Regions from separate parts of the Homo sapiens genome. Here regions 1, 2, 3 and 4 are each linked to region 5. The links are contacts of gene promoters, found by promoter capture Hi-C in human tissues and cell types (Jung and others, 2019). All regions are on one chromosome and are shown on one strand. The core of a region is centred on a gene start or on the middle of the fragment in contact, and the rest is flanking DNA. Distances in the headings are between cores, read along the strand shown. Region 1 has its middle 12 kb from the start of ZSCAN4. Region 2 holds the start of ZNF773 (zinc finger protein 773). Region 3 holds the start of ZNF837 (zinc finger protein 837). Region 4 holds the start of ZNF211 (zinc finger protein 211). Region 5 holds the start of ZNF417 (zinc finger protein 417).

Region 1 (2,700 bases), core at 8-2,507, 260 kb after region 5:
AATTTAAATTATGTGGGAGGATATACACAGGTTATATGCAAATACCACATCATATTATATAAGAGACTAGAACATCTTCAGGTTTTGGTATCCTTGGGGGTCCTGGAATCAGTCCCCCATGGATACTGAGGAATGATTATACAAGTATTTCTATGGACACGTTTCCATCTCTTGAGGTTATACTTAGGAATGAGATTAATTTATCAAATGATAAGTGGACAACTAACTTTAATAACGGCTACAGTGTTTTCCAAATTTATTTATTTTGCATTTCCACCAGCAATGTATGAGAGCTCCAGTTTATTTCATACCTTCAACAGCTAGGTGTGATCATTCGGTTAATGTTACTCATCAAAATGAGTATGTAGTGGTATCTCATTGTGGTTTTCATTTGTAGTTCCTTAAATAGTAATAATTCTGAACTTATTTTCATGCATTTATATACCATTCATATATCATCTTTAGTGAAAAATGTGTTCAAATATTTTGCCTTTTTTTTTTTTTTGACATGGAGTCTAGCTCTGTTGCAGACAGACGGAGGGCAGACGGAGTTTCACTCTTGTTGCCCAGGCTGGAGTACAGTGGCGCGATCTCAGCTGACTGCAACCTCTGCCTCCCGGGTTCAAGCAATTCTCCTGCCTCAGCCTCTTGAGTAGCTGGGATTACAGGTGCCTGCCACCACTCCTGGACACTCCCGGATAATTTTTGTATTTTTACTAGAGACGAGGTTTCACCATGTTGGCCAGGCTGATGTTGAACTCCTGTCCTCAAGTGATCCGCCTTCCTCAGCCCCCCAAAGCGTTGGAATTACAGCTATGATATCTCACCCTGTTGCCCAGGCTGGAGTGCAGTGATTTGATCATAGCTCACTGAAGCTTCGACCTCCCTGGAATCAGTGATCCTTCCATCTCAGCCTCCCAAGTAGCTGGGGCCACAGGCACACACCACCATGCCCAGCTTATTAGCTAATTTTTGTAGAAACAGTGTTTTGCCATGTTGCCCAGGCTGGTCTTGAACTTTTGCCTATTTTTAAATTGTGTTGTTTATGCTATTTGTAGGGATGTTTTACGTATTCTGAATACTCATCATTTATTAGATAGAGGTTTCACAAATATTTTTCCCAGGCTGTAGTTGGCCCTTTCCTTTTTTTACAGGGGGTATATGGGTGAAGTCAACTTGCCAGTCCTGTTCTGGGAAATGGCCTCATGCCTGATGAGTGGAGAAAGGAGGTGGTTTAAGAGCCCCTTCAGGGGAAGTCTGACCACAAACTGGGCAGACTGGTTAAACATTCAAGGTTGGTTGTCATGGTGGTGGAGTGTGTGTAAGTTTTTAAAAACTGGGGTATGTGGTAATAACCAGCATGGAAGTGGTTGTGGATGTGGGAGGGAATAGAGAGTTCTTGAGATTTGGGCAGGATGAGTTTGTGTCAAGATAACATCAGCCTTCCCTTTGGGTAGCCCCAGTGTTAGTTTGACTTGTTCCTCCTGGGTGTATGAGGGATGTCTGCTGGGAAAATGGACAACAGTGATGGGATGTTGTGGGCCACCTGCCAGGCTGCTGAGTCTGCCATAATGTTTCCCTTGGTTATGGCATCTGTAGCTCTCTGGTGTCCATTGCAATGGATAATGGTGGCCTCTAATGGTAGTTTAGCTACCTCCAGCAACCTGTGTATCAGTTTGCCATTTACTATGCAGGTCCCTTTGGTACTAAGAAAAGCTCTTTCCTGTGAGATTAAGGCTTGGGAGTGTAGAATGTGGTATGCATACTTACAGTTAGTGTAAATATTGACCCTTTTTCCTATTGCTAGGGTGAGGGCCCTAGTTAGGTCGACTAATTCTGCCTGTTAGGAGGTGGTAGGGGATGCGACAGTATTGGACTCTAGGAGCTTGTGTTTGGCAACGATGGTGTAGCCTGCTGCAAGACATGGCTCTTTAAAGGAGCTCCCATCAATGAACCATGTAGGTGTCCCCTGTAAGGGGGTCTCTGATATGTGTCGGAAAGGGAAGGAAAGGGAATCTAAAAAGTCCAAGCAGGAGTGACAGAGTTCAGAGTCAAAGGTCCTTATAGGGAAGAGGGTGGCTGGGTTGAGAACTTTACATCTTTGGTAGGTGATTAGAAGGTTGTTTATGTAGGAGGTGTGTGTTTGTTGTAAGTAAGATAGCAGGAGGGAAAGAAGGGAGCAATGACTCATGAGTTCCTGTAGGTTATGAGAAGGTGCAATGGTAATGTATTGATAGAGGGTGAGTTTTTGAGCTTCTGAGGCCAGCAGCATAGACACACATAAGATCCTTAAACAGGGTGGCCAACCTTAGATGACTGAGTTCAGTTGTTTTGAGAGATATACAATGGCTTGTGGGGTACCGCTGAATGTTTGACAGAGTAGCCCAAGAACAAGGCCTTGGTTAGAATGAACATACAGAGTAAAGGGCTTGTTGGGGTTGGGTAGTCCCAGTGCTGGCGACATTGAAAGGGCATTTTTCAGTTTTTTGAACTGGGAGTCAATGGTACAGACTGGATCCAGGTGTTCTAGGATGGGCCCACGTGATGTGGTGTACAGCAGCTTGGTCAGCAAGTTGGGAATCCATAGCCAGAAGTATCCCACAAGGCTCAAGAAGGAAAGGAGGTTCTTTGTATGAGAAAGGGGCATATCCCGGATTAGCTTCTTCCATTGGGTTGGTATGGCCTGAATATTAGGGATTA
Region 2 (2,700 bases), core at 32-2,531, 420 kb after region 5:
CTGAAGACCATCCTGCTGAGAGCCCTCCCTTCTACTGGAGCAGTTGATCATCCCACCTGTGCTGATAGCTAGGGAAACTTAGGCACCAAAGGTGCTGCTCCACCAGCCTGGCTGACCTTTCCTTTTCTCCATATGGACTGGACATGAGGAACTACTAAGCCTGGAGTGGCAAACCTATATACTACCCAACACTGCGGTCTCCATCCAGTCCTGGGTGTTCATACTCTATAACCCTCCATTCCTGCAGGCACCAGACAAAATCACTTCGGACCACGAAACTCCAGGCTGTAGAGGCTGCCCCATCCTACAGGCCCATCTCTCCCTTCCCTCACCTCAGGGACCATCTGAAAGAAAACTTTAAGATTCTCCCTCCTAAATACGAGCCCCAGGCCTTCCAGCTGCTCATGTGGACATGACACCTCCACTCTGGGACATCTCAGGATCACCATGCCCAAAACCTATTCCCTGCACAGCCTTACCCATCTCCATCCTTCCTGATATTCAGGAACAAACAAAAATACAAATAAAAATCCAGAATGGCTCTTCATTCCCTACTTTCTTTCACAGTCACATCTGATGCAACAGGAATTCCCGTCTGTTCAGTTTTTGAAATCCATCCAAGATCTGATCACTTCCCCTCCTCTGTGGCCCAGTCCCAGTAGACTCTCCACTAGTCTACTGAATTTACCTACTCACAGGTCTGTCTTCACCCGCCTCACCCCCACCCCAGTCTGTTTTGACTTGAAGGGCCTTTGGCAAACTTTGAGAAACAGATCTTGTCACTCTTCTGTCTCCAGCCCTCCGCGGCCACTGTGGCCCCCTCAGGATGAAAGCGCAGCTGCTCGGGCTGTCGCTCGACACGCGCCTCGTCCCTTCCCAAGCTGCCCACTACAGACACCAGGAGGCCTCAGGTTCGGGACTCGCTGAATGCGCCTCACATCTTTGCGAGCCGGGCCCCTTGCCCTCCATTGCCACCCCATCACACTGCGTGTCAGAAACGGGACGCCGCCCACGAACGCCCCACAGTTCTGCACCCGGGGACCTGAGCAGGCGGCCCTCACAGGGCTTTAGGATTCGGGGGAGGCCGGGAGGACGCGGCGCTCACCTGAGCGGGGTCCCTCAGCGTGGCCGCCGCCATCGGAGCCTGTGGCGGTGAGACAACGACCGAGGAAAGGGCCCGGGCCACCCTGGGCGCCGCCACCGAGCCTCAGACCCGCCTCTGAGCTGCGAGAACACAGCGCGTCCCCACCGCGCTTTCCGGAGCTGGTCGCCGCAGCGAACAACCAGCTTCCGGCAAGCTGAGTTCTCTTGAGGGCAGCGAAAGCAACCGCCGAGGGGAGACGCCGGAAGTCCCGCCCATTGCGCGTCGCACTCTCGGGTAGACCTCTTTTCATTGGCCAAGCATCGCGGCTCACGGCGCGGCGCCTTCTGGGCAGTGTAGTTCGCGTGGCTCCAAACTTCGAGGAAGTGGGCATAACTTCGGAGATGGAGATTGGAGACGGTAGATGATGGAGATGGAGATGGAGATGGAGATGATGGAGATGATGGAGATGGAGATGATGGAGATAGAGATGATGATGGAGATGGAGATGATGGAAATGGAGATGATGAAGATGGAGATGATGGAGAAGATGGAGATGATGGAGAAGATGGAGATGATGGAGAAGATGGAGATGGAGATGATGGAGTAGGAGATGGAGATGGAGATGATGGAGATGATGGAGATGGAGATGATGGAGATAGAGATGATGATGGAGATAGAGATGATGATGGAGATGGAGATGATGGAGATGGAGATGATGGAGATAGAGATGATGATGGACATGGAGATGATGGAGATGGAGATGATGATGAAGATGGAGATGATGGAGAAGATGGAGATGGAGATGATGGAGTAGGAGATGGAGGAGAAATGAGTGTCGAGAACTCTCGGACTCATCTGGAACCTGTTGTAATTGGAGATGGGCCTGGATTTCAGTTTCCTGCAGCTGATACTCCAATCTTTCCTTCTTTTGAAGGACTTGAAGAGGATCTTCAGGGCCACCATAAAGAGGTTTCACTGGGCAAAGCCACGTATACCTTCCTAAATTTCCTTTGGCAAGGGGACACCCAATATTAATGCCTGATGTATGATAATAAGAAAAGGCTCTGAATTCTGGATGTAGGTGATGAGAGAGTAGGGGAGCCCAAGGATTTACGTTCCTCTTTCACCCCATTCTCATTTGTGTTCTTTCCTTCCTCAAGGACCCAACATTGGTGTAAAGGCACAACAACAGGCAGCAAACCCATAAGCCAACTCCCCCTCAATTTCTCCCCTTCATCCATTTCTGCTCCATATTCCTGTCACAGTTACTATGGGACTGAACGAAGGGGAACGAATGCAGAAATGAAAACAAAGGCAAAATAAATCTGTTTTAAAGAAGGGGTCAGGGGGCTTCTTGCTTCTAGTGAGGAAGGGCCCTGAGCTTCCACAGACCTTCATATTTATTGGGTAGAAAGAGTAGGGAGGTGGTGGCTTACGCCTGTAATCCCAGCACTTTGGGAGGCCAAGGCGGGTGGATCACAAGGTCAGGAGATCGAGACTATCCTGGCTAACACGGTGAAACCCCGTCTGTACTAAAAAATACAAAAAATTAGCCGGGTGTGGTAGCAGGTGCCTGTAGTCCCAGCTACTCGGGAGGCTGAGACGGGAGAATGGCA
Region 3 (2,700 bases), core at 181-2,680, 460 kb before region 5:
CAACTCTCTTCAGCCACCAAGGGACCCACAAGGCGGGCAGCCCTCCAAGTGCCCTTCAGCCTCCTGCTCGCCCTCAATTAGCTTGGTAAGCCCTGAGTTTTGTACTTGGGCAGGGAGATAGACCTCCTGACAAGGCTTTCGATGTGCAGACACCCAAAGGATGGAGAAAGGGAGTGGAACAGTCCCAGCATCCCTGAAGCAGATGCAGTGGAGGCAGAAAGGTGGGGCAAACTGGGTCGTTACATGCAATATATGTGCTGGACTGGCCAACAAAATTAGATGTCCCTATTGAGGGCAGGAGCCACACAATAGATGGGGGCAAGAGCTGGGGGTTACAAATGGGTAGGAGGCGTGACCAGTTCATCCTACCTGGGAGGGCCCGTAGAGTCAGCAACACCCAAAGGGGCTGGGGAGGCTGTGGTTCCCCAATGGGGCCGCACGTGTTAGAATCAACTAGGAGCCGGACTAGGGGCCTGGCGCAGTGGCTCAAGCCTGTACTCCCAGCACTCTGGAAGGCTGAGACACGAGGATCGCTTGAGCCCAGGAGTTCCAGACCAGTCTGGGCAACATATGGAGACCCTATCTCTAAAATAAATAAATAAATAAAAATAAAAAAACTATCCAGGCATGGTGGCTCCCACCTATAGTCCCAGCTATTCGGGAGGGTGAGGTGGGAGGGTCGCTTCAGTACAGGAGTTCGAGACCAGCCTGGGCGACATAGTGGGAGGAGGAAGGGAGGGGGAGAAGGAGGGGGAGGGAGAGAAGAAAGAAAATTAGCCGGGCGTGGTGGCGCGCGCCCCTGTTAACAGCTACTCTGGAGGCTGAAGTAGGAGGATCGCTTGAGCTCAGGAGGTCGAGGCTGCAGTGAACCGTGATGGTGTCACTGCATTAGCCTGGGCGACAGAGCGAGACCCCGTCTCAAAAAAGCAAACCAAAAAAAATACAAAAAAATAGACTTAACTGAGGAGTTTTGACGCGCATATGCTCGGGCCCAGTCCCAGATTCTGATGTTATCGGTCTGACTCGCAACGCGCTCACCAAGACACTTCAGAGCTCCCCAGGTGCTTCCCAGCCCAACTCTCCCACCCGAGGGGAGCCTGCGAACCGCAAGTCGGTTCCGGGTTGGGACCTCTTAGAAATCAGATTGGGAGAGGAGGCTATCAATCATAATCATGACCAGTCACCCGCTTTCACGAGAAGGAATGGGCGGGACCCTACGTCCCCGTCCAGAACGCCGTTTCTTTGGCGACGACTTAGGTCCACGCCCCGCCTTTTAGGTGTAGCCGGCCTCTGTTTCTATGATAACCGAAGCCCAAGCCTCTCCCTACACCGCTTTCTCCGCAGCGTCAAAGCGGGACATGACGGGACTACGTTTCCCAGCAGTCCCCGCGCGGGTTCCCGCCTGCGCTTGCTGTGGCCCGGGTCCCTCAGTGCCGCGGCGGCCCGGAGGTGGCGGGAGGACGGCTCCGCGCTGCATGCGGGGCGGGGACCAGGGACCCGTGCGGGCCGCCTCCAGAGAGTAAGTGGCATTCTGCGCGGACCCGCAACCTCGGCCTGCGAGGCGGGGACCTCCCGGCGCATAGCGCGGCCACCACCCCAGTCCCCTCTCCACCTCCGCGCGCGGGGTCCGGGGCAGAGGCGTGACGCCGCGCACTTCCGGTCCTCGCGCTCCGGGTCCGGACCGGCCACACAGCACTCGCGACCTTGAGTTCCGGGCGGGACGGGCTTCTGTAGTTCTGGCCCCCGCGTTTCCGTGCTGGGTGTCATTGAAGCCCGCGAGGGGAGGCTCCAGGCCCGGGACCCATCCTGGCGGCCTGCGGCTCTCGGAGTCAAGCCCACCTGCTAGCCGAGGCCGACGCCGGCCTCCCTACCGTCTCTGCCCCCGCATCCTGGCCTTTGCACTTTGCTCTTTCCTTGTCTGCAGACCGGTTTCATGCCCCCTCTTCACAGAGGCCCGAAGAATCCGCTGCCTCCCTCCCTGGCGCCCTCGCGCTGCTCCCTGTCTGATGTTCTTCACGTCTTTTTCTCTCTTAAACGGTCTCTTGTTCATTTCTTCTTGTCTGCGGTCCCCTCCTTCACTCACTATTAGAGCAGGATGCAGCACCGTTTGGCCCTGACACAGTGGATGTCCTGCGAGGGTTGAAGCTTGCTAATCCTTGAGGGTGGAGGCACTGTCGGGAGGACAGACACAGAAGGGAGCTGTGCCTGCACTCAGAGGACATTTCTTCTGCTGTACAGTGCATGATGCACTGTTCTTCCCATTGCGTGCACAGTGTAGAATTGGACATAGGGGCTAGAGTCTGTGTCCCCTGGGACTGTCAGTGTGGGTGAGGTTGGTCTGTGGCTCAGAGAGGTGGAGCCACGCTGAGCTGGGCACTAGCCTGTGTCCTCCACACCTCAGAGCCACCAACGTTGACTTCCCTGCACATTCTGTTTTTGTTGTTGTTGTTGTTGTTGTTGTTTTGAGACGGAGTTTCGCTCTTGTTGCCCAGGCTGGAGTGCAGTGGCGCGATCTCGGCTCACTGCAACCTCCGCCTCCCGGGTTCAAGCGATTCTCCAGCCTCAGCCTCCCGAGTAGCTGGGATTACAGGCATGCACCACCGTGCCTGGCGACTTCCCTGCACATTCTCTTGGGCAAATAAGACCTCATTGTGCCGTGTGCAACCTCCATGAGGATGTTGAACCTCACTAGCTTTCCTG
Region 4 (2,700 bases), core at 5-2,504, 280 kb after region 5:
ATAAATCTCCCTCCTCTGATCCCAAACTCCAACTTCCTCACAATAGATGCCAAACTTCACAGAAATAAAGGAAACCTGCAGTTCCCTGAACCAGCTCAGCCTCACCTCCAAGGAGTTCCAAAAGCTGGTACCTACCTGTTTCTATCATAAATTTTCACCCATCTTTCCATTGGCTGCTCCAAATGGAAACATTGGCCTGGACTCAGGGCCCTTAGCTCAGGGATTCTCCAGGGTTCCCAAACCAAACGCTGAGAGAATGGTAGGTGAGTCCCATGACACCACAAATCTAAAGAAAATATCTGTCTGGGGAGGGTGGAGGGACATTCCAGACCAGTGAGGGGCTGAGATACCTCCACTTACCTGTGTAAGTTTGAAAAGCACCTCTGTAGCTATGGGAACCTGTGGAAAGACGCAGGCCTCAGAGGAATGTGATCATGGCAGTGCTCCATGGGCACAGGCCTTCCCTGTACCCTTGCCCCGGCCCAGAGCCACGTAACTTTGGGTCGACTGTCTAACCTGTGCGCCTCGGTCCTTAGTGCTGCCTCTCACCAGTTGTGTGGCCTTGGAAAAATATTCAACCTCCCTCTGCCTCAACGTCCTCATCCATCTCTAAAGTCTTTTCTTCCACTGAACAGCCTGCAGAGGATTTTTCAAATTTAACTCAGATGGTGTCTCTCGTTTGCGCAAGCTCTCTATGGCTCCCACGGCCCTAAGAATAAAGGTAGATCTCTCTCAAACTTTGTTCCCTGCAGTAACAATGTGGAGCCCAGGTTCCTGAATGCCCCCTTCTCGGTTGCCCGTCCAAGCCCTGCACGCGCCGGTCCTGTCCCTTGTCCCCCTGCCCACCACATCGGATGTCAGAAATAGGGGCCCCACCCACGAGCCTCAGTGTCCCCGACCCTGTGCTACAGAGACGTGAGCTGGTGCCTCTCACTTGGGACTTAAGAATCTCGGCCGGGGGAGGCCCGGAGATCGCAGCGCTCACCGAAGCCGGGTCCCTCAGTGCGGTCGCCATCCGAGTCTGTGGGCGGAGCTGGACCGGGAGCTGCGGGCGACCCGGGGGGAACCCGAGCATCGCTATCCCCAGGCCGGCCTCGCGGGCGGCTCTGCCCCCGACCCTCAGACCTGACTCTCGCGCCTTCACGGTCCGTCACTTCGATCCCGATGCAGCGTACCAAAGCGGCTGACAGACAGAACGGACCTCCGGGAGGGCAGCCAAAATGACCGCTGCGAAGACGCCACAAGTCCCGCCCTGGGGGGGGCGGGGGTAGACCCACACGGAAATGCCCCTGTCTTGGATTTTCATTGGATCAAAGTACTGCCGCTCGACGCAAGGCTTTCTGGGTAATGTAGTCTCCCCCAGGCTGCGACGGAGGGCGCCTTGTGTGCAGACAGCTGGGAGCGCTAGGAAGCTGCGTCTGCTGCCTTCCAGGGCGACTGAGGGGCTTCGGTGTTTGAGGTCTTAAGTAGGTTGACACTTGAACAACACAGGTTTGAGCTGTGCGGGTCCATTTACACGTAGGCGTTTTTTTTCCCCAATAAACGTTACTTCGAGTGTGCTCCTTTTCCTGCCTCTTCCAGCTCCCCGACCTCTTGCCCCAGAGACAGCAAGACCTCATTCTCTTGCCCAGCATGAAGAACACAAGGATGAAGACCTTTATGATGATCCACTTCCACTTAATGATTAGTAAATGTATTTTCCCTTCCGTATTCTTTTATTTTCCTTTTTTTAATTGGGTGTAATGTCAACGAGCCTCTTACAATTTTCCTGATACCCTTTCTCTGGTCTGTTTTAGTACAAGTATAGTTCTTATACTAAAATATATATAATGCATATATCATACAAAATGCATATATCATATATATTATGCATATATCATGCATATATCATACAAAATGTGTTAATCGACTGGGAGTTTATGTAATTCATAAGGCTTCCGGGCAACTTCATAAGGCTTCCGGGCAACAGTTGGCTATTAGTAGTTAAGACCTAGGGGAGTCAAAAGTAATACAAGCATTTTCAATTCCGCAGGGGTCGGTATCCCTGACCCCTGCGTCGTTTAAGGGTCAGCTGTATATCAGTCTCTAGTGTAGAGGTTCACTTCAGTATTTAGACATCATTTCAGATTCCATGCAGCCCACCCCAGCAGATCTCCACTGGTAGTGGGAAGCGAAAAAACGTTATCTTATTGCTCTTCAAATGCATGCAGCCTGAAGTGTTAAAGTCACTTTTTGTAGGTTTTGTCAGGGACAAAAGACACCAGACAGGGCTACAATGGGAAGATAGTGGAGGGATAGTGGGCAGCCCTGAAGCCAACGGACAAGGGAAGTTCCCTGCTTCTGGTGCCCCCAGAAAACGCTCTCCTGCCTGCAAAGTCAGTTTTGTTCATAAAACATGAAGCTTTAATACATGAATGTTCATTTTCCTTGTATAATCAAAACATTTAATTTTTTTTTGAGACAGGGTCTCACTCTGTTGTCCAGGCTGGAGTACAGTGGAACAATCATAGCTCATTGCAGCCTCCACTTCCTGGGCTCAAGTGATCCTCCCACCTCAGCCTCTTGAGTAGCTGGCACTACAAGCACACCACCACACCCGGCTAGTTAAAAAAAAAATTATTGTAGGAATGGAGTCTCCCTATAGGGCCCAGGCTAGTCTCAAACTCCTAGGGCCATGCAATCTTCTTGCCTCAGCCTCCC
Region 5 (2,700 bases), core at 201-2,700:
GTTGCAGTGAGCCGAGATCGCGCCACTGCACTCGAGCCTGACCAAAGAGCGAGACTCCGTCTCATAAAAGAAAAAGTTTATTTTGCCAAGGTTGAGGACACATGCCCGTGACACAGCCTCAGGAAGTCCTGACGACATGTGCCCATGGTGGTTGGGGTACAGGTTGGTTTTATACATTTTAGGGGGACATGAGACATCAGTGAATATATGTAAGAAGTACATTGGTTCCGACCAGAAAGGCGGGAACAACTCGAAGCAGGGAGGGGACTTCCAGGTCACAGGTAGACAGGTAGAGAGACAAATAGTTGGATTCTTTTTAATTTCTGATAAGTCCTTCCAAAGGAGGCAATCAGAATAGGCATCTATCTCAGTGAGGAGAGGGAAGACTTTGAATAGAATGGGAGGCAAGTTTGCCCTGAGCAGTTCCCAGATTGACTTTTCCCTTTAGCTTAGTAATTTTGAGGCCACAAGATTTTCCTTTCACAGATTCTATCAGCAGGAGAGTTGTTTTCTGTAGGAATCACAGAGATTCAGCTTTGCACTCCTGCTATAGGGGAGCACATCCCTAACTTCCTTCATTTGCCTTAGGCACTCTAAGGCTTCTGAGGGCCTTCAGACACATTATAACACAACAACGCTTATCAGCCTCTGCTTCCAGTGCAGGTATTTTGCGACTGAACGACTGTTTCAAACGGTGTGGTAATTTGGATTTTTAGCCTTTAGGAGAATCCTAAATAATAGTTTTAGCTTGAGCTCCCTATTATTTACCTTGCGCTCCCCGAAATCTGAAACAGTATTTTTCCAGATTCTTGAGTGATTAGTTACAGACACTAGTCTCCAGGAATCTCAATACGGCTTCTAAGGCTAGGTGAGACCCCTCCTCTGCCCTAGAAAGGCGCCTTTTTTTTTTTTTTTTTTTTTTTTTTTTTTTTTTTTTTTGAGACAGAGTCTTGCTCTGTCGCGCAGGCTGGAGGGCAGTGGCGCGATCCCAGCTCACTGCAAGCTCTGCCTCCCAGGTTCACGCCATTCTCCTCCAGCCTCAGCCTCCAGAGTAGCTGTGACTGTAGGCGCCCGCCACCACACCCAGCTAACTTTTTTTTTTTTTGAATTTTTAGTAGACACGGGGTTTCACCGTGTTAGCCAGGATGGTCTCCATCTCCTGACCTCGTGATCCGCCCACCTCCGCCTTCCAAAGTGCTGAGATTACAGGCTTGAGCCACTGCGCCCGGCCAGAAGGGTGCGCTTTTTAAGGAGAACCCCTGACCTGATGGCGGGCTTTTCCTGCAGATGGACTCTGGGTATCGCTCTTTTTAGCGCCATGGAAAGTGGGGAACTACATTACCCAGAAAGCTCTGCGTTAAACGACAGCCGGTCAGAGCCAATGAGCACTCGGAAAGAAGGCATTTCCACGTGTGCACGTAACGTAAGGCTGAGACTTCCGGGGTCTCTAGTAGCGGCTGTGTATCGGTGACGCGGGTGTTTCCCCAGTTTGTGGCCCCTGAGTGCTGGGGGGGGACCGCGGTGACTGAACCTAGAAGGTGGAGAGGAATCGTCCTCGGTGCCCAGAGGCGGCTCTGCAGCCCCGTGACGGCGACCACTGCTCCCGGGCCGTGCTTCCCCAAGTAGTCCGATGGCAGCGGCTGCGCCGAGGCGCCCGACTCAGGTAATTGTGGCGCCTTCTGTGCCCTCAGGTCACCCCATCGTCACCCAGGTCCTAAACCAGCGAGGGAGCGGCTCCTGCTCACGGGTCTGTAGCCGGTACCCGGCGTAGGAACACTGAGGCGCTCGCAGGAGGGGTCCCTGTGTAACTGTCCAGTGGGGGTCCCTGTGTAACTGTCCAGTGGGTTCACCTTGCCAGCTGCCTAGACAGAGCCGATTTATGAAGACTGGAGAATTGCGATGGAGAAATAGTAATTGACGCAGAGCCGTCAGGCTGTTCTGGAGACAGGAGTTTTATTATTACTCAAATCAGTCTCCATTAGCATTCCGGGATCAGAGTTTTCAACATTAATTTGGCGGTAAGGGTTGGGACCTGAGATGGATTCATAGAGGGTTAAAGTGAGTTTTTCATGCTGTTTTCTGTTCTGGGTGGGATGGCAGAACTGATTGACCCAGATTACCGGTCTGTGTGTTGTCAGCTGATCCATCCAGTGCAGGATCTGCAAAATACCTCAAGCACTGATCTTAGGTTTTACAATAGTGATTTATCTTCAGGAGCAACTTGGGGAGGTTCAGACTCTTGGAGTCAGAAGCTGCATGACCCCTAAACGGTAATTTCTAACCTTGTAGCTAATTCGTTAGTCCTGCAAAGGCAGGCTGTTCTCCAGGCAAGAAGGGGGTCTTTTCAGGAAAGGGCTATTATCAATTTTGTTTCAGAGTGAAACCATGAACTGAATTCCTTCCCTAAGTTAATTCAGCCTATACCCAGGAATGAACAAGGACAGCTGAAAGGTTGGAAGCAAGACGGAGTCAGTAAGGTCTGATTTCTTTCACTGTCATAATTTCCTCAGTTATAATTTTGCAAAGACGGTTTCACCTGTTTCTGACACCCGTGGGATGCGGTGGGGAGAGCAACAAGCACAGGGAGGGGCGCAGGCAATGGCCTGGAGATGGACGGAGCCGGGAGGATGGAACCTGTCTGGAACAAAGTGTGAGGTGGAGCTCTCCCTGGAAGAGTAAGCAGGCCGAGGGCTGTGCATT

What was found. Contacts are between HindIII fragments. The study calls those that stand out against the background at their distance.
Region 1: a fragment that was not itself captured here is called in contact with the fragment with the promoter of ZNF417 in region 5 in 1 of the 25 tissues and cell types used here (spleen).
Region 2: a contact is called between the fragment with the promoter of ZNF773 here and the fragment with the promoter of ZNF417 in region 5, in 1 of the 25 tissues and cell types used here (spleen).
Region 3: a contact is called between the fragment with the promoter of ZNF837 here and the fragment with the promoter of ZNF417 in region 5, in 1 of the 25 tissues and cell types used here (stomach).
Region 4: a contact is called between the fragment with the promoter of ZNF211 here and the fragment with the promoter of ZNF417 in region 5, in 2 of the 25 tissues and cell types used here (lymphoblastoid cells and pancreas).

The regions. Positions count from the first base shown.
Region 1 is chr19:57,655,099-57,657,798 of GRCh38, reverse strand. It overlaps a transcript of ZSCAN4 not described here. Among named protein-coding and RNA genes, the nearest start is that of ZSCAN4, 12 kb to the left of the region's middle. The HindIII fragment of the contact is 8,692 bases long and covers 1-2,700 here.
Region 2 is chr19:57,498,519-57,501,218 of GRCh38, reverse strand. It overlaps ZNF773 (zinc finger protein 773), which reads right to left and starts at 1,281. Exons shown (of 4, transcript NM_198542.3): 1 at 1,106-1,281. The coding sequence starts at 1,138. The HindIII fragment of the contact is 9,164 bases long and covers 1-2,700 here.
Region 3 is chr19:58,379,760-58,382,459 of GRCh38, reverse strand. It overlaps ZNF837 (zinc finger protein 837), which reads left to right and starts at 1,430. Exons shown (of 3, transcript NM_138466.2): 1 at 1,430-1,519. RefSeq lists a silencer at 1,169-1,678 and enhancers at 2,029-2,088, 1,623-2,164, 2,119-2,348, 2,165-2,700. The HindIII fragment of the contact is 47,170 bases long and covers 1-2,700 here.
Region 4 is chr19:57,631,722-57,634,421 of GRCh38, reverse strand. It overlaps ZNF211 (zinc finger protein 211), which reads right to left and starts at 1,254. Exons shown (of 4, transcript NM_006385.5): 1 at 986-1,254; 2 at 361-399. The coding sequence starts at 1,075. RefSeq lists a silencer at 935-1,004 and enhancers at 1,445-1,494, 1,565-1,654. The HindIII fragment of the contact is 12,794 bases long and covers 247-2,700 here.
Region 5 is chr19:57,915,342-57,918,041 of GRCh38, reverse strand. ZNF417 (zinc finger protein 417) reads left to right here and starts at 1,450. Exons shown (of 3, transcript NM_152475.3): 1 at 1,450-1,663. The coding sequence starts at 1,631. RefSeq lists enhancers at 1,074-1,133, 530-1,385, 1,404-1,693. The HindIII fragment of the contact is 14,944 bases long and covers 1-2,700 here.